Linked DNA regions of Homo sapiens: regions 1, 2 and 4 are each linked to region 3. Evidence: promoter capture Hi-C in 16 types of primary human blood cells and fetal thymus (Javierre and others, 2016). All regions are on one chromosome and are shown on one strand. The core of a region is centred on a gene start or on the middle of the fragment in contact, and the rest is flanking DNA. Distances in the headings are between cores, read along the strand shown. Region 1 holds the start of CCDC106 (coiled-coil domain containing 106). Region 2 holds the start of SHISA7 (shisa family member 7). Region 3 holds the start of SYT5 (synaptotagmin 5). Region 4 overlaps SSC5D (scavenger receptor cysteine rich family member with 5 domains).

Region 1 (3,144 bases), core at 44-2,543, 470 kb before region 3:
CGCTTCTGCAGCCAGGAGTTCCTCTCCAGAGCCATGTGCAGCTGGGTCTTGACGCTGTTCATCAGAGCCAGGGCGGAGGACGCAGCCTCCGGAGGCTCTAGGGACACAGCGAGGGTGGGGGGACCAGGTCACACCCTGGGACTCAGGGCTTGGCTTCCCAGCTGACTCCAGTCCCTCCACACCCCCTCAGCTCACCCTCGAAGTTTCTCCGAGAGGGGCTCAGACTGTAAAAGATCTGTGGGTCTAGGTGGGGTGCCTCATCGAAGGGAATGGAGATCTCGAAGGTCTCATCGTCCTTCACTGGAGAGGAGAGGCCCCGGGTTACCCCAGAGAATTCCCCGGGCCTCTCAGGCCACCCCCCAACCACGGCAGCCTGGAGCCGACCGCACTGGGACCCAGGGTAGGGAAGGGGACCCAGCTTCCTCACTTGTCCGCCTCCGACTGCTCCGGTCATTCATGGCGCGGCTTCCTACGGACCCCAGCAGCCGAGGGCCTCAGGGGCACTGGACAGAAACGGCAGCCACAAATGGAGAGACGCAGATGGACTGGAGGGTCCATCCTGGGGGAGGTGAAGTGAGACAGGAGGGACCTTCTGGCCTGGACCCCTGGTCTGAGGGAGGAGGGAGCCTGGACCCCAGGACTGAGGCAAAACGCGCCTGGGCTTCAAACTCCTGGGCTCCTGGAGTCAGGGGCAGGGGGCCCAGCCGCCTAGGTCCTGGGGGAGAAGTGAGCTGGGGACGTGGGCTCCTGGGTATCGAAGGAAAAGGAAGCTGAAGCCCTAAATTGCTGGGTGCCCCAAGGGGTCGCCTGACCAGGGACACCTAGCCTGAAGGGGAAGGACCCTCTCTCATCGCGGGCCACTGCCAGGCCTAAGGAAGAGGCAGGTGCAGGGGGAAACTGCCCCAACTTCCCAGGGTAGGAGGAGGTCCAGCCCGTGCGCGCTGCCTCCTCTACCTTCGGGGCCCCCACACCCCTCCCCCGCACTCGCGTGGGCGGGCGGACCGTCCCCCGGTGGTGGGGGCTGGGCGCGTGCGCAGTACGGGGAAAGGTCACGCGTGGGGGTGCGCCCCCCCCGCCCCCGCCCTTTGTCCCGCGGGTGGGAGGGGGAGCGGTCGTGGAACGATTCCAGCGGGAACATGCACTAGGGCGGGGGTGCAAACGCGGCCACCATCCCCCGCCCGCGGGTGCCCGGGGTCCGAGGGGCCGAGGCCCCCCGCGCTCACCCACCCGCTCGCGGAATCCGGCTCGGGGACCGACGGCGGCGGCGCCCATGCCCGGCGCCGGGGAGCGTCTGCAAAGTGTCACGGGGAGCCGAGGGAAGCGCCCACCCACCCGCGAACAGGCGGGGCGGCAGGGGAGCGTGTCGTGGAACTGAGCGACGGAACGGGCAGGGACGCGGGGACTCGCCCAGTCGGGCCAGGCTAGCGCCCCTCGTTGAAGAGTCCCCGGGTCCAGGTGAGGCCCGCCGTTTGCGGCAGAAGCAGAGGGTCTGCACTTGCGCGATAGCCCCTTACAGCACTCCCCCGCCCTCCCCGAAGCTCAGGCAGGGAACATCACGAAATTCCCATCCTGGAGAGCTGGCGAGTCTCCGGGGGTCCCCGGATTGGGTGGCGGTGTGCCCAATGGGCCCAGAAGGCAGGAGAGTGTTTGAGACACCGAGAAAGTTGGAGCGAAAGGAGAATCTACTTTTAACGCTCTCTCAGGAACTAGCCAGCGCGGACCCCTCAGAGCTCCCCTACCTCCTACAGCCAGACCCCAAGGTTCTCAGGGATGTGGGGGCCAAAATCGGGGGAGTTACCCCTCTCCCGGAAAATGAGGGCCAGGAACACGCCACCCCCATCCCCATGTTGGTAATTAAGAGCTGGCTTTGGAGCAAAGCTAGATTCCAGTCCTGACTGTTCCTGCTCCTCCCCAGCCTGTTAACTCACCTGCAAAATGGGGAAATTACAAGCCCTTCTAAATTTATTGTGAGGATGCAGTGATGCGACACACAGAAGCTCAGCCCAGCACCTGGCCATCGTCAGGGCTGAAGAGAGGAGCGCTGCTGGTATTATTTGAGGTCAGATGGTGGGGTATGATGGCAGCCTCTGGGAGGCTCTTTCCCACTCTGGGGAGTATGAACGGAAGATTTGTTCTTCCTCCCAAAAAAACAGGTCGGAAGAGCAAATGAGGCCTAGCACAGTGCCTGGCACAAAATAGGCAAGAAAAATGAATGAATAAGCAGATGTTTATTAAGCTTCAGGCTCAGCTCCACCTGCCTCTCCTGTTCACCAGAAGCATCCAAGCTCTGGACTGTGGCCAGCCCTTATAAGAGCAAGGTCTTAACCCGATGGAGGGAGAATCTAAATGTCTGCACCGCCTGCAAAGCTGTGACCATGATCCTCCCCTCCCCACTTTACAGATTAACTGCAGCCTGGTCCAAAAATTCCAGGGGGAGCCATCTGCCCTAGATTGGTCTTTTCCAAACTACAGGTTCATGGGTGGAGAATTCAATAGAATAGGATGAAATCAGCAGTTTAAAAAAATATTTAGCCGGGCGTGGTGGTGCACACCTGTAATCCCAGCTACTCAGGAGGCTGAGGCAGGAGAATCGCTTAAACCGGGGAGGTGGAGGTTGCAGTGAGCCGAGATCGCACCACGCTCCAGCCTGGGCGACACAGCGAGACTCCGTCTCAAATAGTAATAATAATAGTTGATGGAAAAAAAAATGCACAAACTAAAGCTAACTATGGTAAAGAAATTTTTGTGGGCCGGGCGCAGTGGCTCACGCCTGTAATCCCAACACTTTGGGAGGCAGAGGGGGGCGGATCACGAGGTCAGGAGATCGAGACCATCCTGGCTAACACAGTGAAACCCTGTCTCTACTAAAAATACAAAAAATTAGACAGGCATGGTGGCGGGCGCCTGTAGTCCCACCTACTCAGGAGGCTGAGGCAGGAGAATGGCATGAACTCGGGAGGCGGAGCTTGCAGTGAGCCGAGATTGCGCCACTGCACTCCAGCCTGGGCGACAGAGCAAGACTCCGTCTCAAAAGAAAAAAAAAAAAAAAACTTTTGTTTCGAGGCCTAGTGCCCTGAGGGAGGCCGAGGTGTGTGGATCACCTCAGGTCAGGAGTTCGAGACCAGCCTGACAAACACGGTGAAA
Region 2 (2,948 bases), core at 47-2,546, 260 kb before region 3:
TGTTGCCATAGAAACAGCTGGAAGACGTGCCCACCACCACCACCACCAACTCCCACCTCTCTTCTGCATCACCTTTTCTCTCTCTTTTGAGACAGGGTCTCACTCTGTCAACTCAGGCTGGAGTGCGGTGGTGAAATCACAGCTCCCAGCAGCCTTGATCTCTGGGACTCAAGTTATCCTCCCACCTCAGCGTCCTGAGTACCTGGGACTATAGGTGCGCACGACCACGCCGGGCTAATTTTTTTTTTTTTTTTTTTTGTAAAGACACGGTTTTGCTGTGTTGGCGAGGCTGGCTGGTCTCCTGCTTGAGCAATTTGCCCACCTTGGCCTCCCAGAGTGCTGGGATTTACAGGCGTGAGCCGCCGCACCCGGACGACCCTTTCTCAGCCTGTATCTCCCTTCTGAAATAGCAGCAGCAGCAAACACTTTCATATTTCACCTGCAATATGCCAGGCACTGTTCTAAGCTCTTTACACATATTCCCTCAGTTCATCCTCCTGACCACTCAGAGATAACCATCCTTATCCCCATTTTACAGATGGGGGACTTGGGGCACAGGGAGCTTAGATAAGAGCCTGTCAGTGTCAGGCAGCTGGCAGGAGGTCCAGTCGGCAGGGGAACCACCCTGCTGTGGTTGTGGTTCAGCTGTGGACAGAGACCCTTCAAACCCGACGCCGTAACAGTGGTGTGTGTGTGCGTGTGCATGCCAGGGAGAGAGAGAGAGAGAGGGAGAGAGAGGGAGGGAGGGAGGGCACCTAAGATCCCTTGATTATCAGATCTAACTAAGGGAGAGAAATTGGCATTTCGGGGCACTGAGGACCATAGGGGTGTAAGTCAGTGGTTCTCCACGGGGGCAGCTGTGGCCTCCTCCCACCAGGGGAACATTTGGCAATGCCTGGAAACATCTTACATTGTCACAACTCGGGGGAATGTGGTGCTGCTGGCATGGAGAGGGCGCTGCTAAACATCCTACAGCGCTCAGGACAGGCGCTCACCACAAAGCAGCATCGGTCCCCGAATGTCAGTGTTGAAAAACCGTGCACTGCCTCTTCCCACTTGCCTGGTCTATAAACTCAAATTCTCAACTTCTCTCTCTCCTCCTCCCTCCCTCTCCTCCCCCTCCTCCTCCTCCCCTTCTTTTCTCCCTCCTTCCCCGTCTCCCTGACTCCTCCTTTCCCACCCACCCCTCATCTGTCTCGCTTCCTTCCCTCCCTCCGCGGTCCCCACTCCCCTCGCCACCCTCCCCTCCCCTTCGCGCGCCTCCCTCCAGCTGCCTCCCCTGCCCTCTCCTCTTCGCCGCCCCCGTTTCTTCTCCTTACATCGCGCCTCGCCTCGCTCCTCGTCCTAATGTCTGCACACCCCTCTGGTGTCTGTCGACCCTCCCAATCGCTTCTCCCGCATTCATCTCTCGCCTGATCCCGGTTCTGTCCGCCCATGCTCATTTCTCTCCCCCAGCCGTGCCCGGGCGCGTTTCCATTACTCTCCCATCGTCGCCCACCGCGCGTGGGGCGGCCAACTTGGGCCCACGCAGCTCAGCTCCCTCCGCCCTTCCTGCCTCCTGGCGCCTGTTGCTCCCCACACTCTGCCGCCCCCCGCCCGCCCTCCCCAGCCTCTCTGCCCACCCATCTCTACGTTTCTCACCCTCTGACCGTTTCTCTCCCGCCCAGCGCTCCAACCTCTGCTCTCGTTCTCCCCGCAGCCTGGCGGCCCAGTGCGACCCCCTGCAAGCCCCATGCCGGCCCTCCTGCTCCTCGTACTCCTGGCCTCTAGCGCCGGCCAGGCCAGGGCGCGCCCGTCCAACGCCACGAGCGCCGAGCCCGCGGGCCCGCTGCCCGCCCTGCTGGCGCACCTGCGGCGCCTGACCGGGGCGCTGACGGGCGGCGGGGGCGCGGCGAGCCCAGGCGCCAACGGCACCAGGACCGGCCCCGCGGGCGGGGCGGGCGCGGCGGCCCGGGCGCCCCCTCCCGCCGAGCTCTGCCACGGCTACTACGATGTCATGGGCCAGTACGACGCCACCTTCAACTGCAGCACCGGCTCCTACCGCTTCTGCTGTGGCACCTGCCACTACCGCTTCTGCTGTGAGCACCGTCACATGCGCCTGGCGCAGGCCTCCTGCTCCAACTACGACACGCCGCGCTGGGCCACCACGCCGCCGCCGCTAGCTGGGGGCGCCGGGGGCGCTGGGGGTGCGGGCGGGGGGCCAGGGCCCGGCCAGGCCGGGTGGTTGGAAGGGGGCCGGACTGGGGGTGCCGGGGGCCGCGGGGGCGAGGGCCCCGGGGGCAGCACAGCCTACGTCGTGTGCGGGGTCATCAGCTTCGCCCTGGCCGTGGGCGTCGGCGCCAAAGTGGCCTTCAGCAAGGCGTCCCGTGCGCCCCGGGCGCACCGGGATATCAACGTGCCCAGGTGCGTGTGCTCTCGGGCGGGAGGACTGCGAGCCTGGGGCGGGGCCCAGCAAGGGAGGTGGAGCCATCCGAGGAGGAGGGGCTGCAGGGATAGGGCGTGGTGGTCAGAGACCCAGGTGGCGGCCGCCGGCGTAGCTGAAGGTGGGCAGGGGCTGAGAAAGTCGCGCCAGAGCCGGCCCGGCTGTTGCGGAGTGATGCAGGGAGAGGGAGAAGCCCAGACTCTCATTCATTCGACACATATTTCTTGAGCACCTTCTGTGGGCCAGGAGCTGGGGATACACCAGTGAACAAAACAAGGTCTCTGCCCTGGTGGAAAAGCCTGACTTCCAAATCCAAGTTCACAGCCTACAGGCTATGTGACAGTGGATGAGTTGCTTAACGTCTCTGTTCCTCAGTTTCCTGTCCGCACAATGAGACTAATCATCGTCCCCACCTATTCGGATTGTAATTAACTGAGTTGATTCGTGCAGGGTCCTGGCACACGGTAAGGGCTCATTAACTATCAGTGGCCCAGTCCGTAAGCATGTGCAGTGTAATTTTAGATGA
Region 3 (3,100 bases), core at 271-2,770:
AAACCTCATCTACGAGAACGTGGCCGCCATCCAGGCCCACAAGTTGGAGGTCTAAGTGACGAGGGGGCTGGGTCGGCAGCCCAGGCATCCTCAAGCTCTGGACACCCACTTGAGCCCAGATTCCTGGAAGAGCAGAGGGCTGGGCTCCCAGACTCCTGGGTGCTGTGGGAGGAGGGGGCTGGTATCCCAAACTCTGGTTTCCCCAGGAGAGAGTGGTCTGGTGGGCTTCAGATGAGTCCTATGGGAGCTGGGGATCTGGATTCCTGGTTCCCTGAAGGAGGAGAGGGATGATAGCTTGGATTCCCTAGGTCTTTCCAGGATGCAGAAAGAAACAGGCTGGGGCCTGGATTCTGAGGCAGGAAGGAATTTGGGTCTGGAGTTCTGGCTACTTGAGGACCAAAGGCAGGAAGGATCCTGCCTTGATTTTACTTCAGAAACCAAATCAGTCTTCTATAATCTGGGGTCGGAGGGAGTCCCTGTGCCCAAGGTCTCTCTGCACCCCACCATCCACATGTATTTTTCCTTCTATCCCATAATTTATTAAATCACTGTTCTCCCCAGAGACAGTTGTCCCATGGATTTCTGGGTCTGGAAATAATATTGGATTGGGAGTAGGGATGGGTTCCTGGTATCTAGGGATCGAGGCGAACGTCCAGGAGGGGACTAGAGGGACCCACACATTTGCACATGAAAAAATGTAGGTTTGGGTGGTTGAGTCTCTCAGAGAAGGCAGTGTCCAGACGTCTGTGTCCAGGGTCTGGGCAGTATGGACAGGGCTCGCTGGAGCTAGGTGCTTGGGGACTTGCCTTCTGAGCTTTTCTTTTACTCTTCTCTGTTGTTGTTGTTGTTGTTTTGTTCTGTTTTTGTTTTTGTTTTTGAGACATGGTCTTGCTCTGTTGCCCAGACTGGAGTGCAGTGGCTCACTGCAGCCTTGACCTCCTGGGCCCAGGTGATCTTCCCACCTCAGCCTCTAGAGTAGCTGCCATCACAAGTGCGCACCACCACGCTGGCTCATTTTTGTAGAGACGGGATTTTGCTATGTTGCCCAGGCTGGTCTCCAGCTCCTGGGCTCAAGCATTCCTCCTGCTTCGGCCTCCCAAAGTGCTGAGGTTACAGGTATGAGCCACCGCACTGGCCGCCTCCTGGGACTGGTGTTAGGGGAACTTAGAGGGCGATGTCTGGGGGCTGATAGCTGGGGACTTTGATGCTGAACCCTGCAGAGTCTGGGTCTCCAATGGGGGTCTGGGGTCTCCTAGGTCCTAGGACTGAGTATCCTGGCATGCCGTTCTTTGGGCTATACAGGGTGTGTGTCGTGTGTGTTGGGGCGGGAGGAGTGGAGTGGTCTGGACGGCCAACGACTGGACCAGAAGGCAGAAAATGCTAAAGCACCAGGATAAACATCTGTGGGCGTCATCGAGGTTCCCGGGTGGAGGCGGGAGGAGGGGCGGGGCAGGGCTTTCCGCCTACCCGAGACCAAATACGGGCACACACAATACACACCACACACGCGCGCACACGCACACGGGCACACACGCGCGCACGGGATCCTGCTCCGCTCCGCGGCTCCCCCGCCCCGGAGAGCTCCGCGATCAGCACCCGGGACAGCGCCACCGCCCACGTGCAGGGGGTGGGGTCCGGGCGGGGCTGGCGCCTCGGCGTCTCCCGGGAGTGTCCCGTCCAGCCGCCGAGCAGGTAGGAGCTGCTGGGACCCCCGCCCTCAGCCCATCCGCATCCGCATCCCTAGAGGAAAGGGGTGTGCGAGTGGGGGCTGGGGCACTGGGGAGACAACCAGAGGGAGGGCAGCAGCCTGAAGCGGAGAGACAGGGATCTGGGGACGCGAGACAGGTATGGAGAAGACAAAGAGCCGAGGGCGGGGAGTGGGGCGCAGGCGGAGGGGAGAGGGAGAGACCCTGGAGACAGAGGCCAGGCGATAGGGAAGAGAGACAGGCGGGTTGGGGAGGCAGACACAGGGAAGACGCCTATGTGGGGTCAAGAGGCAGCGTGGAGACCGAGGCGGTCACGAGAGCAGCACGGATGCGTGGAGAGACCAACAGGCCAAGAAGGATGAGGGGGCTCAGCACAGGCACCGGGCAGCCCCCGACCCGCCCTCCAGCAAAATTGGGGAGAGGGAAGAGGGAACCTGCGTCTCAGCTCCCAGGACCAGGTGCGGAGGGAGCAGTCGGCTGTGGGCGCTCGGACCACAGGCTGCCCGCTCCCCACCTCGCGGGACCTCAGGATCCCAGTCGGGCTATTGGGGGGTTCCCAGGCACCGGTGGGCCCCGGAGCGAGCCTGCCCCGCCGGGACTCCGCGTCTGTGCGTCAGCCCCGCCCGTTGTCCTGGCAACAACCCGTTGCCCGGGCAACCAGCTTTGCTCTCACCCCGCTTGAGAGGAGCCCGGCTGTTGCTCTGGGCAACGCGGTCTGCTGGTTCCCACGTCTGCCTTCGCCCGCTTCCGGTTCAGACCCTGCGGAGGGGCGAGGACGAGGCAGAAGTCAGCGGGATGCCTGTGGGGCCGTGGAGGAAGAGGGTATCCCTTTAGGATGGAACTAGGTCCTGGACACCCCCTCTCAAGTGCGGGGAGGCTGATACTACAACTCCCAGCATGACTCGCGGTGGCTGTCCGGTTTCTGCGCGGCTGTTCGCGCAAAGGCCTCATGGGAGTTGGAGTTCTTTGTTGTGCGTGGGGCTCAAAGGACGTCTGGGGTGGGAATGGGGGACTAGGGTGCTTGAGTGTCTCTGCAGAAAAGACTCCAGGACCCCGCCACCATGTTCCCGGAGCCCCCAACCCCGGGGCCTCCATCGCCCGACACGCCTCCCGACTCCAGTCGCATCAGCCACGGCCCAGGTGAGCAAGACCCGGGGGTGGGGGGCCGAGCAGAGAGAAAGCCTGGCCAGGATTCCGAGGGGCGGGATTCGGACGGGTGTACTCGGGCAGGCGGGCTGGAAAATCCGGCTGGGATCCCGGGTCGTCATCCTGGACTGGAATGCGAACGAAATGGGGTAAAAGGAAGGAACAGATTTGCAAAAAAAAAAAAAAAAAAAAAAAAAAAAAAATCGAAACCGGATCAAGGGGTGTTGCATGGAATGGGATCTTAGAAT
Region 4 (2,718 bases), core at 114-2,613, 340 kb before region 3:
TGGTGGGGTCAGGAATCATGGTGGAGTGAGTGATGGTGGTGGGGTGAGGGGTCGTGGTGGGGTGAGGGGTGGTAGGGAAGTGAGGGGTCACAGTAGGGTTAAGGGTTGTGATGGGGTCAGGGGCCATGGTGGGATCAGGGGTAGTAGTGGGGTGAGGGCTTGGGGAGGGGTCTGGGGATCTAGAATATTCTGAGACTGTACTGGAGTATGGAGTTGTGTCCAAATCTGGGGTTGTGTCAGATTCTGGGACCTGCTCTGAGGTAGGGGAAAGGCTGGTCACCTCCGACGGTGTAGAAGGGTCAGAGGTCAGCTCTTTGGGCAAGGTGGGTAAGGGCGTGGGTGAGGGCTCCGGGGTCAACGCGGGAACCACACTGGAGTCAGGGGTGGACAAAGCAAAGTCAGGGCTTGTCAAGATGAGGTCGGGGTTCGTCCGGGAGGCCGGGTCTGGGGTGGGTGGTGAAGTGTCCGGAGCGTCAGAGGTCGCCTCGGACGTCAAGGCTGAGTGGGGAGTGAGCTCTCGACTGGAGTCAGAGGTCAGCGCTGGGCCTGGGGGTCCCGGAGAGGCGGAGGGACCTGGGGACGGGGTTGGGGGCGCTGTCCTGGTCGCAGCGGGCCGCGGTGGCCGGCGCTCGGGCCACGGTTTCCTCGGGGAACCTGGAGGAGGAGGAAAGACAGACGGACGGTCTGAGGTCAACCGGCTCCGCCCACCACGCGTCCCGCCCCGCCCCTCGAGGAGCCGACCAATGGAAAGGCACAGAGCCTCGAGACGTCATGGGTCACCGGCAGACTTCACCCGGCCCTAGGGCCCCTCCTCCCTACGTCCTCCGATGGCTCCAGGCGCCACCTGGCGTCCTCCACTGCGGGAGGATGCGGGGATGCTCCGGACTCGGGGATGCCGAGGGGCACGCGGGTTGCGGGAGCGGGTGCAGGAGGGTGAGGTGAGGGAGGGATGCGTGGGGTGCTGGGGTGCGGGAGGGGGCGGGAGTGCTCAGAAGCGTGCAGCATACGGGAGGATTCTGAGCCAGCGGGGGACTGGGAGATGTGCGGAGCCAGGGGAGGCAGGGAGACCAAAGAGGGCTCCGAAGGGTAATGTTAGTAATCAAAATAAATACTTTTATGGATTTTTTTATTTTTTAAGATAAAGTCTGGCTGTGTCGCCCAAGCTGGAGTGCGGTGGCAAGATCATAGCTCACTGTAACCTCGAACTCCTGGGCTCAAGCGTTTTTATGCAATATTTTTAAACAATCAAAATTAATCCAAAAGATCCACAGTTAACCAAAGTTAACATTTTAACCAAAGACGGGATCCAACAGGGCCAGGATTAGGGGGAGCCCAGCGAGGCGGATAGGATCCTGTCTTCAGTGACTTTTTTTTTTTTTTTGAGATGGAGTCTCGCTCTGTCGCCCAGGCTGGAGTGCAGTGGCGTGATCTCGGCTCACTGCAAGCTCCGCCTCCCGGGTTCACACCATTCTCCTGCCTCAGCCTCCCGAGTAGCTGGGACTACAGGCGCCCGCCACCACACCAGGCTAATTTTTTGTATTTTTAGTAGAGACGGGGTTTCACCGTGTTGGCCAGGATGGTCTCGATCTCCTGACCTCGTGATCCGCCCGCCTGGGCCTCCCAAAGTGCTGGGATTACAGGCATGAGCCATCGCGCCCGGCCTTCAGTTACATTTTTGATACCGAGTTCATCATGGGTTTTTTTTTTTTTGGCATTAATTTTCATTTTAAAAAATACTGTATTATGATATTATGTATCTTGATTTTGGCGTTTTGGGCACCCCCTTAAATTTTGGGCCTGAGTAGCAGGAGGAGCCTGACCCTCTTCTGGGGCTGTCTTCCAAGTGAGTGCCAATTTTATCCCCATTTTACAGAAGGGGGAAATTAGGGCAAGAGGGCAGGTGACTCGCCCAAGGTCACACAGACATAGTTTGCAAGTTGCAGGGCTAAGACTTGAACCCAAGTTGTTTGCACATAGAGTCTAGGCAATGAAATCTCACATCTGCAGTGATGGGAATGCGCTGTGATCTACCGTGCCAATACAGTAGCCACTGGCCACATGTGGCTACCAAGCCCTTGAAATGCGGCCAGTGTGAATGAGAAACTAAATGTTTCATTTTCTTTTATTTTATTTTATTTTTTTTTTTGAGACGGAGTCTCACTCTGTCGCCCAGGTTAGAGTGCAGTGGCACGATCTCGCCTCACTGCCAGCTTTGCCTCCCAGGTTCATGCCATTCTCCTGCCTCAGCCTCCCGAGAAGCTGGGACTACAGGCGCTCGCCACCATGTCCTGCTAATTTTTTGTATTTTTAGTAGAGATGGGGTTTCACTGTGTTAGCCAGGACGGTCGCGATCTCCTGACCTCGTGATCCGCCCGCTTCGGCCTCCCAAAGTGCTGGGATTACAGGCGTGGCCACTGCGCCCGGCAAATGTTTCATTTTCAAAGTGTTAATTCATTTAACTTTTTTTTTTTTTTTTTTTTTGAGACGGAGTTTCACTCCTGTTGCCCAGGCTGGAGTGCAGTGGCGCGATCTTGGCTCGCTGCAATCTCCGCCTCCTGGGTTCAAGTGATTCTCCTGTGTCCACTTCCTGAGTAGCTGGGATGACAGGCATGTGCCACCATGCCCAGCTAATTTTTTTGTATTTTTAGTAGAGATGGGGTTTCACTATGTTGTTCAGGCTAGTCTTGAACCCCCGACCTCAGGTGATCTGCCTGCCTC

What was found. The method cuts DNA at HindIII sites, captures the fragments that hold promoters and counts their contacts. A CHiCAGO score of 5 or more calls a contact.
Region 1: the fragment with the promoter of CCDC106 here is called in contact with the fragment with the promoter of SYT5 in region 3 in 1 of 17 cell types (naive CD4 T cells); the score reaches 5.7 in naive CD4 T cells.
Region 2: the fragment with the promoter of SHISA7 here is called in contact with the fragment with the promoter of SYT5 in region 3 in 11 of 17 cell types (M1 macrophages, activated CD4 T cells, M2 macrophages and 8 more); the score reaches 11.7 in M1 macrophages.
Region 4: a contact is called between a fragment that was not itself captured here and the fragment with the promoter of SYT5 in region 3, in 6 of 17 cell types (M1 macrophages, total CD8 T cells, naive CD4 T cells and 3 more). The highest score is 6.9, in M1 macrophages.

The regions. Positions count from the first base shown.
Region 1 is chr19:55,646,361-55,649,504 of GRCh38, reverse strand. CCDC106 (coiled-coil domain containing 106) reads right to left here and starts at 1,293. Exons shown (of 5, transcript NM_001370470.1): 1 at 428-1,293; 2 at 196-300; 3 at 1-97. The coding sequence starts at 458. RefSeq lists silencers at 938-1,067, 1,098-1,217. The HindIII fragment of the contact is 17,145 bases long and covers 1-2,238 here.
Region 2 is chr19:55,441,648-55,444,595 of GRCh38, reverse strand. It overlaps SHISA7 (shisa family member 7), which reads left to right and starts at 1,296. Exons shown (of 4, transcript NM_001145176.2): 1 at 1,296-2,403. The coding sequence starts at 1,733. RefSeq lists a silencer at 2,393-2,482 and an enhancer at 1,976-2,604. The HindIII fragment of the contact is 48,275 bases long and covers 1-2,948 here.
Region 3 is chr19:55,178,709-55,181,808 of GRCh38, reverse strand. SYT5 (synaptotagmin 5) reads left to right here and starts at 1,520. Exons shown (of 9, transcript NM_003180.3): 1 at 1,520-1,692; 2 at 2,723-2,846. The coding sequence starts at 2,768. It overlaps PTPRH (protein tyrosine phosphatase receptor type H), which reads left to right. Exons shown (of 20, transcript NM_002842.5): 20 at 1-562. The coding sequence ends at 55. RefSeq lists silencers at 1,505-1,694, 1,575-1,987 and an enhancer at 1,975-2,054. The HindIII fragment of the contact is 13,685 bases long and covers 1-3,100 here.
Region 4 is chr19:55,515,160-55,517,877 of GRCh38, reverse strand. SSC5D (scavenger receptor cysteine rich family member with 5 domains) reads right to left here. Exons shown (of 14, transcript NM_001144950.2): 14 at 1-654. Among named protein-coding and RNA genes, the nearest start is that of SBK2, 21 kb to the left of the region's middle. RefSeq lists silencers at 482-661, 792-951 and an enhancer at 471-972. The HindIII fragment of the contact is 6,972 bases long and covers 1-2,718 here.